Regions from separate parts of the Homo sapiens genome. Here regions 1 and 2 are each linked to region 3. The links are contacts of gene promoters, found by promoter capture Hi-C in blood cells and fetal thymus (Javierre and others, 2016). All regions are on one chromosome and are shown on one strand. Each heading gives the region's core, a stretch centred on a gene start or on the middle of the fragment in contact. The rest is flanking DNA. Distances are from core to core; before and after follow the strand shown.

Region 1 (2,700 bases), core at 61-2,560, 350 kb after region 3:
TCCTTTTATCCTTCCTTTCATTCTTCCTTCCTTTCCTCTCTTCCGTATTCTTCCTTCCTTCCTTCCTTCCTTCCTTCCTTCCTTCCTTCCTTCCTTCCTTCCTTCCTTCCTTCCTCCCTCCCTCCCTCTCTCATTCCCTCCTTCCCTTCCCTTCCTTCCTTTTCTTTCCTCTCTTTCTCTCAACAGGGCTCAGGTGATCCTCCCACCTTAGCCCCCTGAGTAGCTGGTACTACAAGCATGTGCCGCCATGCCTGGCTAATTTTTCTATTTTTTTGTAGAGGTGGGGTTTCACCATGTTGACCAGGCTGGTCTCGAACTCCTGAGCTCAAGCAATCGGCCTACCTCAGCCTCCCAAAGTGCTGGGATTATAGGTGTGAGCCACTGCGCCCTGCCTAGTGCTTGAGTTTCTGATGGGCACCACCTGTCTTTCTGTGCACCAGACACTATCATCCTACCTTGAGGCACTTTGCCTGGTACCAGAGTAGCAGTCTCTAGAATACAGAACTCTGCCATAGTACTATTTTTTACCTTCATCTGATTTTGTATGTGGCATGCCAGGTGTAGCTCTATTGGATATTTACTTTTTTCTCTGTGCCCCAAATTCTGGCATCCTTAGTCAATATGAAAACCCCTTCTTTTCTCTAAGAAATAGTATGTGCCAGTAGGGTATGCAGGGCTGTGGTCCTTCTTATTGGTTGGGCCAACTTTTTTATTCACCGGGAATCCTTTCTAATTGACCTCATTGGTCAGGCATCCGTTCTGATTAATCAGTGCTCATGCATTTTAGTTCTTAAATATTTTTACTGTCTCCTCTGCTTCCTAGCAACCATTAATTGAGCACATGAAACTGACTGTATGCTAAATGCTTTGGATATCTCTTCTCTTTTAACTCTCATAGTAATCTCATCATAAGGTGTGACCAGACAGATTTTTACAGATGGGGAACTGTGAAAAAAAGCTTCACAGAAATTACATAAATATTCTGAGGACATAATGCATGCGCCTGGGTTAGGATTCAGATCTGGGACTCGGTGACTTCGTGCCTCACTGTGGCACGGTAGTGCTCTCAATCTAGAACCAACTCATTGTACACTGAATCTGGTCTGTTTATCGTATTCCACATTAGAACATCCTGCTAGGTTGTATGGTACTTCCATGTCCTTACTTGCTGCTTTGGGTGGTGGCCATTTACCTTATTCAGAACCATGAGTTCACCTAAGGCCTACTGACCAATAGAGCTTCTAGGTCTTTCCCATCTCCTTGTCTTCTTAAATGCTGAAATGGCCAGGGAAATGAGACAAACTGGCCTAAAGTGATAAATTGATTTCATCATTGTCCTGTTCCTCAGCTATCTAAAACCTGTCTAGGTGATGCAGATACTGCATTTGTCAGTGTCAGAACTGTGCAAATGCAATATATCCTTGTAACAAACCTGCACATGTACCCCCTGAATCTAAAATAAAAGTTGAAATTATAAAAAAAATAAAAATTTAAAAAAAGAACTGTGCAAAGATGTAAACATCTTTCTTCTTGTTACATTCTGAAAGCCACCAAAGGAGTAAAGGGAGAGTTCCTTTTGGTTTGTTTCTCATTATAAACTTTTTTTTTTAAGTTCCTAAAATAAAATTGTGGGAGTCTAAGCATATCATCAGGGAAGCTTATCTGCAAGTAGAGCAGTAAAACACTCATTTTAAAAGTGCCTTAGGGCCAGGCGCGGTGGCTCACGCCTGTAATCCCAGCACTTTGGGAGGCCGAGGCGGGCAGATCACGAGGTCAGGAGATCGAGACCATCCTGGCTAACACGGTGAAACCCCGTCTCTACTGAGAATACAAAAAATAAGCCGGGCAAGGTGGCGAGCGCCTGTAGTCCCAGCTGCTCGGGAGGCTGAGGCAAGAGAATGGCGTGAACCCCGGAGGCGGAGCTTGCAGTGAGCCGAGATCACGCCACTGCACTCCAGCCTGGGCGACAGCGAGACTCCGTCTCAAAAAAAAAAAAAAAAAAGGGCCTTAGGTTGGGTGCAGCGATTCACGCCTGTAATCCCAGCACTTTGGGAGGCTGAAGGGGGTGGATCACCTGAGGTCAGGAGTTCGAAACCAGCCTGGCCAACAAGGTGAAACCCTGTCTCTACTAAAAATACAAAATTAGCTGTGTGTGGTGGCACATGTCTGTAATCCCAACTACTCAGGAGGCTGAGGCAGGAGAATCACTTGAACCCGGGAGGTAGAGGTTGCAGTGAGATGAGATGGCACCATTGCACTCCAGCCTGGGCAACAAGAGCGAAACTCTGCCTCAAATAAATAAATAAATAAATAAACAAACAAACAAACAAACAAACAAAATAAAATAAAAAGAAAGAAAGTGCCTTAAAGTACACTTGGTGGTCTAAATGTGAACAGATCATGAATCTAAAATATTCCAATTTAATATTTACTGAGCACTTGAATTGCTCCCAACTCTTTTCTACATGCTTTATGTGCATCCTTTCATTTAATTCTCCAACAACTCTATGCAAGAGGGACTATTATTATCTTCATTTTAAAGATGTGGAAACTTAGGCACAGCGTAGTTAAATAATATGTCTTAGATAACCTAGATTATATGTGGGAGGCTCAGGATTTGAAGATAGGCAGTTTGATTCCAAAGCACAAGCTCTTGATATAACCTAAAGAATGATAATGTTTTATTTAAACAAATATACA
Region 2 (2,700 bases), core at 29-2,528, 330 kb after region 3:
ATAATTAACACTTATTTTTTTTTCTTAAATATTCAGAAGACAAATGTTCTCAGGATAGTCTGAATTAGGGTGTTATTTTGACATCTTTCTGATTTTGTTTGTAGGTTACATGTCCGAATACCAGCACTCTTGATAGAAGTGCTACAAATGAGAGGTACTAAAGTAGTTTCTGGAAGAAAATCCAATTTCTACTATGCGATAATACGGTTTGATCATCAGGAAGGAAAAAAAAAGTTGTAAACCACTGATTCCAAGGATTTTTCTCTTCATCAAGTTCTTTCTCCTTGTTCTACAATAGCCAATTTAAAGCATCTGCCTTATGAATTATCAGCCAATATTTACTGGATAAAAATGATACTTATTTTCAGGTACAAAGGAAAGAGTCACAGTTAAGCAAATGTAGTTCTGGGCTGGGCGCGGTGGCTCACGCCTGTAATCCCAGCACTTTGGGAGGCCAAGGTGGGCAGATCACGAGGTCGAGAGACCATCCTGGCCAACATGGTGAAACGTGGTCTCCACTAAAAATACACAAAGTAGTTGGGCGTGGTGGCACATGCCTGTAATCCCAGCTACTCAGGAGGCTGAGGCAGGAGAATCGCTTGAACCAGGGAGTCAGAGGTTGCAGTGAGCTGAGATCATGCCACTGCACTTCAGCCTGGCAACAGAGTGAGACTCTGTCTCAAAAAAAAAAAAAAAACACAAACATAGTTCATAGTTCTGTTCTCCTAAAATGGGACCATACCCACACTAAGAACTAAACAGCTAGTAACATTAGATATTTTGATTCTAGGTGTTCTTCCTACCCCGCACTATATCACAAAGACTCCCTAGAGACAGTGCAAACCCATGGCCAACCTCGACTATTAGTCCACATCAAAGATGGCTAGAATGACTGGGAGAGAGAAAAGCAACACAGATGGCCTCTGGCCCTCACACCCTCTCCTGCTCATTCCCAAGCCCGCAGTGGTCTCTGAATCGGCTAGGCTTGCCGCTGCTTCCTTCTGTAACCTCAGTGAGATATATCAACCTGGCCTGGCTATATCCTTGGGGTCTCCAACGTCTCCAGTGATGTCCAGAAATCCTCAAAAAGTTCTAACAATAAAAGGAAATTTAATTCACTGTCATAAAACCATATGCCATTAATATTAAAAGGCCATTTTTAAATAAATATTAATTTGAAATAGCTCTTTGGATGTAGGGGCTCAAACCACAAAATCAAGCAAGTGTTCACATTCTGCTGAAATGCCAAAGGCGCTGGGAACTGTAGTTGCACTGGATCAAACCAACGCATGTTTCCTTGGTGCATAGACCCTGTATTCCCAGCCCCCTGTTCTCGGTACTTCACGGTTCTTTTCTCTTTGACAAACATCTGACATTTGAATTCCCCCTCGAAACTCCCACCCCTTTGAAGAGATTTAGTTAAGTTTGGAGGAAATGTGTGCCCACAAGGTAAATTTTTAAACTTACAGAGAAAGCTAACAAAGAGGAAAATGGGAAAGGATAGAAAATAGAATGGAAATTAAAATTAATATTATTTTAAAAAATCTATTTGGTACCAGAAACTAGCATATACACATACATACTATACACACACACACACAATCTTATATATACATCTATGTAATCATATATATAAATCTCTAATCCTCACTACAATATTTACTTAATAGAAAGCTATTAATATTCCAGTTTCACAGATGAGGGAACTGAAGCTCAGAGAAACTAAACAAGCTGATCTCACGATTAAAAAAATAACAGATTTAAGATTTCAATGCAGGTTTGTCTAGCCCCAAGCCCTATTTTCTTTTTCCTAAAACATCCTGCACAAGAAGTGCAGGAAAAAAGGAGGGAGGAGAGGAGACCCTCAGGTCTTTCTTGTTGCTGCATCCTCCACTAAACTTTTCCTGGTGGTCAGATTTGGGTTAGACTCCCTCTTACTTGCTCCTGACATGCTTGGCATTTCCGTTATCTCATGGCTTACTGAACTGATTGTAATGAATTGTCTGCTTTTCCAGTTTACCATCAGATCATGGCCTGTGTGAAAACAAGGACCATATCTTATTTATTTTGGCTGAAAAATAATGACTATAATAGCAGGTAACATTTATCAGGTCTTTTAATATGCATACTCTGTGATACATGCTGTATACATAGGTACTAGCTTTGTGCTACTTAAAAGTGTGGTCCTGGCACCTGTGACACTGGCATCAGCCAGAAATTTGTTAGAAATGTAGAATCACAGGCATCACCCCAGACTAACTTAATCAGACTTGCAATTTTAAATACCTAGGTGATTTGTGTGCACACTAAAATTTCAGAAGCACAGTTTTATCTCACTTAACCCCCACAGCGAACCTAGGAGGTACCGACGACTAACAGAAAAACTGGCTTACACAAGTGATGTCACTACTGTAAAGCACAGAGACAAGACCCATAGGCGATGCTCATGAATATTTTCAGGCAGAAGAATGGCAGAAGAACAGGTAGAGCTAGAAAAAGAACAAGAGGAATGGATAATCCTCTGACTTCTGGTTTTGCCTAGTTTATACCAACTGCAGCAGCAGGTTGGAACCATAGCCCCCATGGCGTCGAGCTGTTTCTTTGCTCAAGCCAGGCCAAATCCTGCAGTGGTCATCAGTGTGCACACTCAGGAGCTAGGAGCAAAATTTCCTCCCAGAAGATAATGTGAAGCAAAGTGCA
Region 3 (2,700 bases), core at 102-2,601:
TCCTACCAGCACTAGCTACCACTTGCAGCTAACACACATAGAGAGAAAATACACAAACAAACAGTGTTTGATCCTGCTTTGCTGCAGGGTGTTTTCATCTTTCAAGAGACCAAGGGAAAAACAACCTCAGAACTTTACCACCAAAACTTCCAAATTTATTGCAACACAACGTAACGGCAAAATACTATTTTCTTAGCACACGCAATTTTGAGCAACCACCACGGCCAAGAATGCTTGTTTTTATTTTTACAATAAGTCCAAAGAAAATTTTTAATTCCACTCTTGATTTAGGAATGGCAAAGATGCTGTGGGTTGTTTGGAGAAAACTGTCATGTCTAATTATTCAGTCTTATCCTCTCTCTTTAACCTGTGCTTGAGGCGTTTATTTCATGTTTATACTAGTTGGACACAAATCATACTTAAAAGAGATTTCATATCCTGTCTTCCTGTGAAAAGCTGAGCTACGATGGCAGACTTAACAATGCCAGCCCCTTGTTGGGCTTATCAGTAACAGAAGCATTCAGCCTAAGAAAACACTTTAAGTGTAAACAAGACACAGAATCGCACATCTAGCCACATTCCACTGAAATCTGTCTGAATAGAGAGAAGTAGAGATCCACACGAAATAGTTTCTCTTTTAAGTTAGCACCAATGTGCCCATTTCTCATACTGCCATTCACAATCTTTATAAGCAATTTGCTATATTGCTATTACATTCCACATATTCCAAGCAAAGTTTTTAAAAAAGCAAGATAATAGAGACTTAAATTACTTTAAAATTCTACACAAATGTCATACTTTTCAACTTATTTGTAACCATAATTAAATTGGTTTAAAGGAACAGTAAAAATCTTGTTATAATATTAATATCAATGCAGTTTATTTATAATTGATAAATATATATGTATATTACTAGTTGTTTACAAGGATGCCAAGTACCATCCACTTTCATCTCAACTCTCTTGAAACTGAAATTTGCTTACTCGGTCAAGCTTTGTATTGTAGTTTCTTAAAGACAAATACGTTTCAATGATAATGAATGGAAAGTAACTATATACACAGCTTAGAAATTCATCAGACATACCTTGTTTGAAGAAGGCAATTTTTTTTTCAAAAAATTTTCACCACACAGAATGAATATTCTTTTTCCCTTAGGCTTTCCTGCATCACAAATCCCATCCAAATTATTCTAAGGAAGAAACAGGGAGAGGTCCAAGAACCTTTTCTCTTCTTCTCAGAGGAGCTAATCGAACAGTCCCATCAACCTCTCAGTACTTTGAAAAACACATTTTACACCCCCCCCCACACACATACACACACACACATGCTCACACATACTGCTTCTCACACTGGTTTTAGTGCTGAATTAGGCGGTCCTCTTTCAAATTTCCACTCCCACTGCTTTTTTTTTTTTTTTTTTTTGTAAGGATTTCTAAATATTCTTTTGTAGCCCAAAGCACAAACTTTCAGTAAGCAAATTCTACAATTTGACATTCTAAAAAGTAGAGGAGGACCACTTAGATAAAAATGGAAAGTAAAAGATATGTTTTAAAAATTACTTCAGCAGGGGCAATTCAATTTTTTCTTTCTTTTTCAAAAGCTAGTGAACAGCTGGACTGAACTGCACAAAGAAGGAAAACTGTGCAAACACTCTCAAACTTATTCTACTGGACTCCCACTTTTGAATTGAAAATATGTACTTTTTCCTACATATTAATGCTATTTTTTTGTTTTGTTTTGCTTCAGTCCTTTCTGCGTTTTGGCAAGTTTTATGAAATGACTCAATTATATGCTGGTAGTTACAGGACACAAGATAATCATAGTGGGAAGCAAAACCTGACTCATGTTTCAAAAAAAATACTGATGAATAATCTCACATGAAATCTGCCAGTTTTAGTTATTTATATATTAGTGTCATCAATGAAATCTAAGAGATTCAGATTCAAAATGTGTATTAACGTATCACATCATTAAAAAAAAATCAGACCAAAAAAAAGTACATCTGGCAGATCTTGAGATTCCAGTGTCCATCAGTGTGGCAGAGCATCTGTTTTCAAGCACAGGAGAAGGTAGCAAAGAGTCATTCCTCCTCCTGCTGGGGAGTGTGCACTCACGCAGCTAGGGAGGAGAACCTTCTTCCATTCGAGAAGCCTCCTGTCCTCATCTGTTGGCCCTGGAACTGCTCCTTATTTAAGATAATTGTTTGACAGATCTTGTGCTCTAATGCCAAGTTATACATGGGATGATTGCTGGCACGTCTTCATTGGCTATATAAAATGTGGCCGAGAAGATAGGCTCTCACGGTAAGAAGTCTGTGTTGATTAGGAGTAACTTTGGCCCAGCTCTCTGGTCTAAAGCTCTCAAATGTGACTATGTGAATCTGGGTGGGATTCATCTGCTCAATGCCATTGTGCAGAGATGCATAAGCTTTTTAATGCTATAAAACATGGTAGCTGAAATTAAATGCCACTTTTTCAGAGGTGAATTAATGAAGAGCCTGATGAAATTCAAAGCTTTTTGATGTATAAAACTTGATAAATGGAATGATTCCATCAATAGGCGAAGTGTAGCAAGCTATCTAGATGGATAGTATGTAATTTCTGCACAGGTCACTGTTAAATAAATACATCACTGTACACTGATCAGGAATCTTCCTCCATTAAAGGAACATGAAGACTAAAAAAAGGGAGATAATGATTT

Evidence for each region. Contacts are between HindIII fragments. The CHiCAGO score rates a contact against its expected background, and 5 or more counts as called.
Region 1: a fragment that was not itself captured here is called in contact with the fragment with the promoter of VIT in region 3 in 2 of 17 cell types (M2 macrophages and endothelial precursors); the score reaches 7.0 in M2 macrophages.
Region 2: a contact is called between a fragment that was not itself captured here and the fragment with the promoter of VIT in region 3, in 1 of 17 cell types (M1 macrophages). The highest score is 5.8, in M1 macrophages.

The regions. Positions count from the first base shown.
Region 1 is chr2:36,341,909-36,344,608 of GRCh38, reverse strand. No RefSeq gene overlaps it. Among named protein-coding and RNA genes, the nearest start is that of CRIM1-DT, 12 kb to the left of the region's middle. The HindIII fragment of the contact is 699 bases long and covers 961-1,659 here.
Region 2 is chr2:36,363,734-36,366,433 of GRCh38, reverse strand. All of the region lies in intron 1 of CRIM1 (cysteine rich transmembrane BMP regulator 1), which reads right to left. Among named protein-coding and RNA genes, the nearest start is that of CRIM1, 9.3 kb to the right of the region's middle. The HindIII fragment of the contact is 6,469 bases long and covers 1-2,700 here.
Region 3 is chr2:36,695,358-36,698,057 of GRCh38, reverse strand. VIT (vitrin) reads right to left here and starts at 1,351. Exons shown (of 16, transcript NM_053276.4): 1 at 1,085-1,351. The region is part of intron 2 of LOC124905990 (a long non-coding RNA gene); the gene reads left to right. The HindIII fragment of the contact is 1,435 bases long and covers 995-2,429 here.